Regions from separate parts of the Homo sapiens genome. Here regions 1 and 2 are each linked to region 3. The links are contacts of gene promoters, found by promoter capture Hi-C in blood cells and fetal thymus (Javierre and others, 2016). All regions are on one chromosome and are shown on one strand. The core of a region is centred on a gene start or on the middle of the fragment in contact, and the rest is flanking DNA. Distances in the headings are between cores, read along the strand shown.

Region 1 (3,555 bases), core at 1,028-3,527, 560 kb before region 3:
ACTGTCACGTTTAGCCGGATATGGTGGCTCATGCCTGTAATTCCTACACTTTGGGAGGCCGAGGTAGGAGGATCACTTGAGGTCAGCATGACCTACATGGTGAAACTGTGCCTCTTCTAAAAAAAAAAAAAAATCCAAAAATTAGCCAGGTGTGGTGGTGCACGCCTGTAATCCCAGCTACTCAAGAGGCTGAGGCAGAAGAATTGCTCGAACCCAGGAGGCAAGGTTGCAGCTGAGACTGCACCACTGCACTTCAGCCTGGGCAACAGAGTGAGACTCCCCACCTCCCCCGAAAAAAGAAAAGAAACTGTCGCTTTCTATCACATATTTTTGTAAATATTCTAATTTGGGCACACAGTGTTTTTTAAATAGGGAAAAAATCTTCAAAAAAGAAAACCCAGCAATGTAGCAATGTTATGCAATGAACAACGTTCAAGACAGACTGAAAAGTTGGTCACATTCTTTATGTTTTCCCCATGTTATAAATATTGTTAGGCCTATCTTATTTCGTTCAAATAGTTTTAAAGGCTTGTAACACATGCATGCTATAATTGCATTTTCATTACAAAAAAATTTAAACATAGAAAAGTCTCAAAGAATGGGTCATGGTTATGACTGGGTCAGTAATTTGAGTTTTTTTTCTCTTAGCTTTTTAGTATTTTCTACTTTTCTATAAAAGCAAATATAAAAAACAAATAGCTCCAAAAGGTCAAATAAAATATCATGCCCAAAAATCAAGACAAAAACAAATTAAAAGAAATGCATGGCTATAAGAGTTCCAGGCACAAAATATCATGTCTGGTTCTCTAGCCCTGCCCATTAAAAATGTACCCACTACTGAAAGAGACAGAATGAAAGAAAACAGCCCAGTTCTAAGGAGCTAGTCCAAGCTGGTAGGAGTCAGCCAGGAGTGAAGACAGGTGCACAGCTGACAAGCACTGCCTCCCTCCCCACCCCGAGATCAGTTACCTTTCCAGGTTGTAATACTCTAGCCACATGTTGGCGTACTTGGCATTTCCTCTGGTCATGATGCTATCCCAGAGTTCCCGAGCTTTCTGCATGTTATTGCACAGTCGAGCCTAAAGTGCATCAGCAGGCTGTTAGGAGACCTGAACCTTATGACGTCGACACCCATCATACAACACACTTCCAACAGACACACATAAAAAGCACCCCACAACTATTAGTGTTACAGATGTCCCTGGGCATTCCCCAGGCCTCCCTCCAGTGGTAAACGACCCAGCCCAAACACTTGAGCCTTTCTGCAGCCACAAGCTAATCTACCTATGTTTCCTGAGAACCGAGAGAGGGAGCGCACGGTACTTACTCGACAGTACTAGATAGTCACGTTTTTTATTTTTATCAAGCTTAACTACAAGTGTTTGAGAGACAATGTTAAAAAAAAAAAAAAGACTGATCTAGTATTAAATGCACACTCTGCTACTAATACTTACAAACTGTGACTTGGGCAAATTACTTAACCTGTAATTCTCAGTTTTCTCATCTTTAAAATGGTTAAAAGATAAGCATCCCATATAAAAACTACCTGACAAATGTTAGTTTCTTCTATCTGACGCTCCCTCCGAGGAGAAAACATGATTAGAATTGTTACAATCCTACCTGCTGATCAAGGGAGGTTCCGTGTCTTACTGACCTTGGTGTCCCTGACCCAGTAATGACATTCAAGTCATCATATCCTCTAATTACTTGTCAAATCATCTGTCTTCTACATTAGATAGAAGCCTTACTAGCAAAGGAATTTTATCTGTCTTATTCCCACAGCACCTAGTACAGTGCTGACAAACAGTACACGCTCACTGTGCTCTCACAAATGAAGCAAAGAGGCAGAGACAGAAGTAAACGAGTGAATACCTAGCATCTAAACATTTACTGCACAACTTCTAGCTGGGAGCTAATATTTTCACCAACATATTTACAAATATATGTCAAGCTAGGTAAATAACATGAATCCTTGTGGAGCCTAGACCATTACCTAGGTAATAACATAAATCCTTATAGAGCTTAGGCCATTATCTGGGATTCTGACTCAATTTTAATTAAAGTTTAATAGGATGCTATTAAACAATGATGGATGAAAGTGCTAGATGTGTCAAAAACATTTACCTCAATCCTAGCCCAGTTCTGCATAATCACGCAGCTTGGATCACCACTCTCATTGAAACCTTCAAAAACAGAATTAGTAAAATTAGAAAGGAACTTGGAGACAGATAGTCGCTGGCTGAAAAGGTACATCAACCAGGAAATAGTACAGACAAGGAAATACAACTGGGCAAAACCACAGGCTGGGGCATACTTACGCTCTTCCACCTCCTGCTTCAGATACTCCAAGGCACGAGTAAAGGCGGCCCTCAACTCCTCCAGCTCTTTACTGGAGTCTAACGGAAAGTGCAAAAAAAGGCTTTAGGAAACCACATAGCCTGGCTTTGTTTTATTTTTTATCCTATGCTGAAACTGCCTGGAGACCCACTATGTACCTGGCATCATGCAAGGGACACAGAAATAAAATTGCCAATTCCTGCCCTCATCACATAGTTGGGGAGAAAGAAATTTGAACAGAATAGAGCATGGACAGCGTGGTGAAAAAGGCAAACACAGGGTGCTGTGGGGGGGAGTCTCCCCCAGCTGGGGTGACACAGGCAAACAAGAGAATGGCTAAAGGCTACCTGTATGAGGTGACAGCTGACATGAGTGTGCAAGTACAAGTTAGGGGTTTTCTGGTTGTTTTCGGGGGGACATGAAGGGGCAAAGGATCCCACAGAGGTACAAAGATTTTTCTAAAACACAGCAGACTTATTTCAAGAAGTATTTAGGATAAATAAAAAGACCTGAAAGGAGAAATGAGAGCTAAGACTAAAAAGGCTGGCAGGAGCCAGTATAAACGATTACTCTCTTGCTTTACAATCCACATCATGACTTGTTAAAGACAGAAATTGCTAAGATTTCTGGGGGAAAAAGTCACCAATACCTAGTCTACATCATTTGCCCAATCACAATGTATCTGGGGAACTGGGACATCTCGCCAAAAGTTGTATTAAGAACATGTTCAGCTCTAAAGTGAAAAACATGTGCTTAAATACCTTGTTTGAAATCAACCCTTCTCCTCAGGTAATCAAGGTATGCCTGCCAAATCTCCACATAATCAGTGGCCTGGATGAAGCCGGCATTCAAAGCTTTCTCGAAGGTTACTGGAGTTGGAGAAAAGTCAGGATTTGTTACCAATTCAAATGGAAACTAATAGAAAGTCACTACATTCTACTGACTATAAAACACTACATGACTTTAAAGACTAATAGATGCAACAGAATGAAATGAGCTAGACAGGAATGTTGAAGACAGAAGTTGCTACAGCACTCTACAGACTGTGTTCTAGAAAAAACTTCTTCCACAAGACGCCCTGCAAGAAAAGTTCCAGATCAAGGAAGTTTGGAGAAAACACTACAACTTCTTAGAAAATACAATGAATATTAGCATGTTAAAAAGCTCTAAGAAGCCACAAATATAACCAGTTCATCTCTCACTCAGAGCCCTTTTTGT
Region 2 (3,445 bases), core at 884-3,383, 540 kb before region 3:
GGTGCATATATGCTAATTAAAAGGTAGATAATGGTAGAGTGGATAAAAACACAACCCAACTATATGGTGAGTACAAGAAATTCATTTCAAATTCAAAGACACAGGTAAACTGGTTGAAAGGAAAAGGAGAGAAAAAGATAACATGCAAGCATTAATTAAAAAGTTGAAGCGGACATATTAATATCACATAACGTACACTTCAGAGCAAAGAAAATTACTAGAGATAAAAAGGATTATATAATGACACATAATAATAAATAGATCAATCTACCAGGAAGACATAACAATCCTAAATGTGTAGGAACCAAAGAGCGCTTGAAAATTCATGAAGCAAAAACTATTACAGAGCTCAAAGAGACACAGCAGCAATTACATTTGGCAACTTCAACATCTCCCTTTTCAGCAACTGATAAAACTACTAGACACTTGAATATGTTGAACCTGGTCAAAAAGAAGATGAATAAAAGAAAAAGAAAATTAGACAAAAGCAAATTAAAAAATTTTTAAGTTTTTAAAAAGAAAGGAAATTGTTTAATTTTTTTTTAAACTAGGCAGAACAGGGTTATAGAAGAACTCAATAACGCCGTCAACGAACATGACCTAATTTATATAGAGAACAGCCCACCCAACAATACAGAATATGTATTTTTCTCAAGTACTTACGGAACATTCACTGAAGCCATATCCTTGGCCATAAAACAAACCTCAACAATTTAAGAGAAATGAAAACCATGCAGAGTATGTTTTGTGACCACAATGGAATCAAATTAGAAACCACTAACAGTAAGAAAATCTCTGAACACGTGAAAATTAAGTAATACACTTCTAAATAATCTGCAGGTCAAAGAGGAAGTCTCCAAGAAAATTTACAAATTAAAAAAAGTGAATGAAAATGAAATTGCAACAAATCAAAATAAGTAGGATGCTACTAAAACAGTACGGAGGAAAATTTAAAGAACTAAATTCAGTGTATAAGAAGAATTATACACCATGACCAAGTGGTATTTATTCCAGGTTTGCAAGGCTAATTCAACATTTAAAAATCAATTACTGTAATCCAGTGTATCAAAAGGCTAAAGAAAACTCATGGTATCAATAGATGCAGAAAATGCATGTGACAAAATCCAACAACGATTCATGGTTAAAACACTCAGCATGTTAGGAATAGAGGGAAACAACCTCAACCTGATAAAGAGCATCTATAAAAAATCTATCCCATAAGTTGGGATATAGGGTTACCTTAACATCATTCCTAATGGTAAAAGATTGAACACTTTCCTCCTAAAATCAAGAACAAGGCAAGGATGTCTGCTCTCACCACTCTTTTCCAACAAAGTCCTATAAGTTCTAGCCTGTTCAATAAGACAAGGAAAAGAAATAAAAGCTATACAGCTCGGAAAAATAAAACTGTCCTGATTTGTAGATGATATGGCTAAGTAGACAATCTTAAGGAACCAATTAAAAAAAAAAAAAACTCCAAAAATAGTGAACTGAGCAAGGTCACAGAATATAAGATAAACATACAAAAACAAAAAAAAAAACAAAAGAACATGTGGAAACCAAATTTAAAGACATAGCACCATTTACAATCACTCCAAAAAACCTAAATAATTAGGTGTATATTTAAAAAGTTTACAAAATCTGTATGCTGAAAATTACAAAATGCTGAGGAAAGAAATCAAAGACCTAAAAAAAGAGACACTTCATGTTCATGGATTGAAAAACTCAACATAGTCAAGAAGTAAATTCTCCCTAAACTGACTTACAGGCTTACTGAAACTCCAATTAAAATCCCAACAAGGTTTTTTGTAGACCTAGACAAGCTTATTCTAAAATGTATATGGGATGGCAGAGGCCCTAGAATAGCTAAAAATGATCTTGAAAAAGAATAAAGTGGGAGTAATCACTCTACCTGATTGATACTAAAACCTACAATACAGCTACAATCATCAAGGCAGTGTGAGAATGGCAGAAAGATACATAGATGAAGAGAATAGAACCCAGTAACAGACCCACACAAATATGCCCAAATAATTTTTGACAAACGCAATGCAACAGAGGAAAAAAAAAGGCATTTTCAAAAAATGATGCTGGAGCAAATGGATATCCACAGGCAAAACAAATAAATACACCTTGACCTAAACTTCACGCCTTACAGAAATAACTCAAAATGGATCACACTTAAATGTGAAATGTAAATATAACATCACAAAATGTTAGGACAAGAGAAAAATTTCAAGGCAACATCAAGGATCCTTAAGGTGACAGAACTGATCTGTATCTTGACTATATCAATGTCAATACCCAGGTTATTACATATTATAGTTCCTCAAAGTGTTATCATTGAGGGAAACTGGGTAAAAAGTACACGAAAAATCTCTATTATTTCTTACAAGTGCATGGAAATCTACAATTATCTCAAAATAAAAAGGCGAATTGTTTAAAAAGCTTTTGTTGGGATATAGGGATAATTTAAGTCTGTACACCAAGACTTCATTAGTATCTACTCTTCCAACATCTGCCACATTTTAGGAATATTTCCCTCTCCAGAGATAAAAGATTACCTACACTTCATTCAAATTACACTCTACCATCTGACAACATACCCTAATAATCCAGGTACTAGATATTTAATTAAAATACAGAAAGACAGCCAATGAATATGATTACTTGAACTTTAGGATAAAAATCTTAACAATGAAGTAGCCAGTGAACCTTTAAATGGAGTGGGGACAAGGACCAACCATTCAGAGAATACAAATATGAAGGATTACGGGGTTTTGTTCAAGTGTTTAGATTTTAAACAAGAACTCATTATCTTTCTCTACTAATTATAATAGTAAAACCCTTCCATGGCTTCCCAGTATCCTAGGAACAATTTGCAAATCCCTGCCTCATGTGCAATCCCAGCATGCTGGGCTCATCTCTCCAGCTACATCTCAAACCACCGGCCTCTCAACATGGCAGCCAGCTTCGTGTAACTCAAACATTCCAACGTCTCTCCAACCTCAGGGCTAGGCACCTGCTGCTCCTTCAGCCCAGAAGGATCTCTCACCTTCTCTCTGCCTAGCCACCCCTTTTCATACTTCAGGTATAAACTTCACTTCCTCAGAGGGCGCCCCCGGCCCCCCTCCTATGCCACTCTTTCTTAAGTAGCCCCCTATATGCTGCAAGCTGTTTTCCATCTCATCATCGTGTTTATTTCCATCATGACCTAAAGGCTTCATGGGATAAGTACCTTGTATGTCTTATCCTTGACTTGGTTAGATTCTTTACCTACCTGGCACACAGAATTCAATAAATTACATGTCAATCTCACTCAAGAGCATTAATACAAAAATCCTAAATAAAATATTAAAAAATCAGAAATGTATAAAGAGAACAATACATAATGATCAATTTGGGTCTATCCCAGGAATGCAAGGGTGTTTTTACACTACAAAAT
Region 3 (3,421 bases), core at 814-3,313:
ACTTCAGCTTCTTGTCCTAGGCACTGGGACACACCAGCAACAAGAAGCAGCAAGTTCCTTTCTTCACTCAGGTTACATTTCGGGGATGGAGACAGAAACACACAAGGAAAGAATAAATAATATGCTGTCTCTAAAGAAATTGTGTAAAAAGAAAAAATAAATAAGATGCTTTTGTATAGTATAGCAGTTATAGAGCAATGGGCTAGAAAGTGGGGCAGGAGGAGAAGTCCTTTTCAGGGAAAGATCCTGAGCTGAGACCTGAGGCTTTCCAGGCAAGGGGACGGTGAATGCAAGGGTGTGCAGGCCACAGGGGGACAAGCTGGGTGTGTCCAGCAATTGTGCTGGGAGCTGGACTCAGTAGTGGGGGCTTCCATCAGAGAGGAGGCAGCACTGAGACCTGGGTAGGAAGCTGGGGTTTATTCTAAGCCTTTTTGAAAACCAAAGAAGGGTTTTAACCTAAGGATTGTCTTTTTTTTCTTTTTCTTTTTTTTGTTTGTAGACAGGGTCTTGCTCTGTCACCCAGGCTGGAGTGCAGTGGCACAATCTCAGCTCACTGCAACCTCCGCCTCCCGGGTTCAAGTGATTCTCCTGCCTCAGCCTCCTGAGTAGCTGGGATTGCAAATGCATGCCACCACGCCTGGCTAATTTTTGTATTTTTAGTAGAGACGGGGTTTCACCATGTTTGCCAGGCTGGTCTCGAACTCCTGTGCTCAAGCGATACGCCCCTCCTTGGCCTCCCAAAGTGTTGGGATTACAGGCGTGAGCCACCGAGCTGGGCCAGGCCCCAGGTATTGTCATGATGTAAAAATCTCTCTCTAGAAAAGAGAACACCAGCTTCCCAGCTGGTCTTCTGTAGCTAGGAGATGCAAGAGCAGCAGTTGAATTTGAGGTTTGCTTTGGAGAAAGAACCAAAAGCAGATATGGATGGTTTGGATGTGAGGGAGGGAAAGAGAATCCTAAGTGTATTAGTAGTGGTGGGAGGAGGTTCGGTACAGTGGTGTCATTTGGAAGACAAATCGTTGGTGTTTAACCTCTATGACCCGAAAGTCTCCCACAAGCCTGATACATTAGGCAAAATGTTTGACTGCACTAAGCCTTAGTTTATCGTCATAAAATAGGCCATGAAAATTGCGTGAGAAAATGTATATAACAGTTCAACAAATAATATTGGCTGGGTGTGGTGGCTCATGCCTGTAATCCCAGCACTTTGGGAGGCCAAGGTGGGCAGATCGCCTGAGGTCAGGAGTTCGAGACCAGACTGGCCAACATGGTGAGATCCCCCATCTCTACTAAAAAAATACAAAACACACTTGGGCAAACATGGTGAAACCCCATTTCTACTAAAAATAGAAAAATTAGCCAGGCGTGGTGGCGCGCGCCTATAATCCTAGCTGAGGCACGAGAATCGCTTGAATCCGGGAGGCGGAGGTTGCAGTGGGCTGAGATCACACCACTGCATTCCAGCCTGGGCGACAGAGCAAGACTCTGTCTCAAAAACAAAATACACACACAAAATATAATAGTATTTGTTTGTTTGTTTGTTTTTGAGATGCCTCGGATTACAGTGCGGGGATTACAGACGTGAGCCATCAAGCCCGGACAATATTATTATATTGTTCATTGCACTCCCACAACACCCCTAAGGGGCAGGAACTTTTCTTCCCAGCCCCCTCCCCCCGACCCCACCGAGAGACAGGGTCTCGCTCTGTCGCCCAGGCCTGGAGTGCATTGGCGCGATCAAAGCTCACTACAGCTCAGACCCTCTGGCCTCAAGCGATCCTCCAGCCTGGGCCTCCCAAAGCGCTAGGATTACAGGCGTGGGCCACCGCGCCTGACCAGTCTTCTCTTCTTGCAGCTGAGCCTTAAGAGCCTGTCCAAAGAGCAGAGGTGGGCTGAAGGCACAAAGCGAATGAAAGAATAGGCCCCCGGGCACCGTTGCACGCCCCACCTCCTCCCAGGGGCGTTGCACTCCAGCCCCTCCCGCACATGCGCACTGGGCCTTCCACCGCCCCCCGCCCCCAGCAAAGCCCCCCGCTCGGAGCATGCGCGGGCCGCTTGGCGCCAATTGCTGACCGCCACAGCCACAGCCAGGGCTAGCCTCGCCGGTTCCCGGGTGGCGCGCGTTCGCTGCCTCCTCAGCTCCAGGATGATCGGCCAGAAGACGCTCTACTCCTTTTTCTCCCCCAGCCCCGCCAGGAAGCGACACGCCCCCAGCCCCGAGCCGGCCGTCCAGGGGACCGGCGTGGCTGGGGTGCCTGAGGAAAGCGGAGATGCGGCGGTGAGGCGCGGCTTGGGCCGGGGCTAGGGGGTGAAGGGGGAGGAAGGCGGTGGGCCCCGCCTGACGGAGGGCGTGCAGGATCGCGCCTCTGACTCGGTAAACCCGGGCTCCGCTTTCCAAATAGCCTCCACGTGTTCAAAATAGCCGCCGCTGTCCCCCATGGGCCGCCATGCTAAAGGGCCAGCCAATGGGAACGCGTCTCGGGGCCCATGGCGCCAATCCGCGCGCCGCAGGCCCTCCTGGCTCGGTGCGCTGTCCAATCAGAGGGGAGAGGGGGCGGGACCCAGAGGGAGGTTTTTTGCCGCGAAAAGACCACGTGGGGACGCGGTGGGGCGGGTCTGGCGGGGGCGGGGCACCTCTGTGCAGGGTTCCCAGTCACCGCGACGCTCCTCGGGAAGCCATAGGGCGCCTCCCAGCCCGTCTCCCCGCTCCAGTTTAGAACCTAATTCCCAATTCCCGGACCGGGCCCAGCCCTGGGCTCTTACTGTCCGCTTTTGCTGGGACCTGTTCCACAAATGGGCGTCTTCTGCCTTGGGCCGTGGGGGTTGGGCCGGAAGCTGCGGACGCCTGGGAAGGGGCCGCTGCAGCTCTTGAGCCGCCTCTGCGGGGACCACTTGCAGGCCATCCCAGCCAAGAAGGCCCCGGCTGGGCAGGAGGAGCCTGGGACGCCGCCCTCCTCGCCGCTGAGTGCCGAGCAGTTGGACCGGATCCAGAGGAACAAGGCCGCGGCCCTGCTCAGACTCGCGGCCCGCAACGTGCCCGTGGGCTTTGGAGAGAGCTGGAAGAAGCACCTCAGCGGGGAGTTCGGGAAACCGTATTTTATCAAGGTAAATATGGAAATGCACCTTCCATAAGGGTAAATGTGGAGGCTGCCGGCCCTTTTGTCTTGTTAGTGTAGCCGGCCAAGTTCATGTTTCCGTAGGCTTAGGTTGTACCCCCTTCAACCTCCTTTACTCACAAAGGGGGTAAAAGAAAGCCATGATGTTTCACTCTGCAGCTTTATATTGGTTAAAGTTGTTAACGACCCGCGAGATGATATCATGGATTCATTTAAGTCACATAGTCTATTGTCCAGGAAAGGCTGGCGTAGTAAAATCACCAACCATCCTGAATGAAACCTGGCTTGAGCTTTAAAAAGCCGAG

Evidence for each region. Contacts are between HindIII fragments. The CHiCAGO score rates a contact against its expected background, and 5 or more counts as called.
Region 1: a contact is called between a fragment that was not itself captured here and the fragment with the promoter of UNG in region 3, in 11 of 17 cell types (naive CD8 T cells, total CD8 T cells, megakaryocytes and 8 more). The highest score is 8.2, in naive CD8 T cells.
Region 2: a contact is called between a fragment that was not itself captured here and the fragment with the promoter of UNG in region 3, in 16 of 17 cell types (total CD8 T cells, erythroblasts, naive CD8 T cells and 13 more). The highest score is 13.4, in total CD8 T cells.

The regions. Positions count from the first base shown.
Region 1 is chr12:108,534,390-108,537,944 of GRCh38, forward strand. SART3 (spliceosome associated factor 3, U4/U6 recycling protein) reads right to left here. Exons shown (of 19, transcript NM_014706.4): 9 at 3,099-3,206; 10 at 2,319-2,396; 11 at 2,125-2,183; 12 at 970-1,079. Among named protein-coding and RNA genes, the nearest start is that of FICD, 21 kb to the left of the region's middle. The HindIII fragment of the contact is 1,824 bases long and covers 1,366-3,189 here.
Region 2 is chr12:108,551,013-108,554,457 of GRCh38, forward strand. All of the region lies in intron 1 of SART3 (spliceosome associated factor 3, U4/U6 recycling protein), which reads right to left. Among named protein-coding and RNA genes, the nearest start is that of SART3, 8.4 kb to the right of the region's middle. The HindIII fragment of the contact is 625 bases long and covers 1,822-2,446 here.
Region 3 is chr12:109,095,534-109,098,954 of GRCh38, forward strand. UNG (uracil DNA glycosylase) reads left to right here and starts at 2,064. Exons shown (of 7, transcript NM_080911.3): 1 at 2,064-2,278; 2 at 2,899-3,105. The coding sequence starts at 2,147. RefSeq lists a silencer at 2,243-2,632. The HindIII fragment of the contact is 3,702 bases long and covers 1-3,421 here.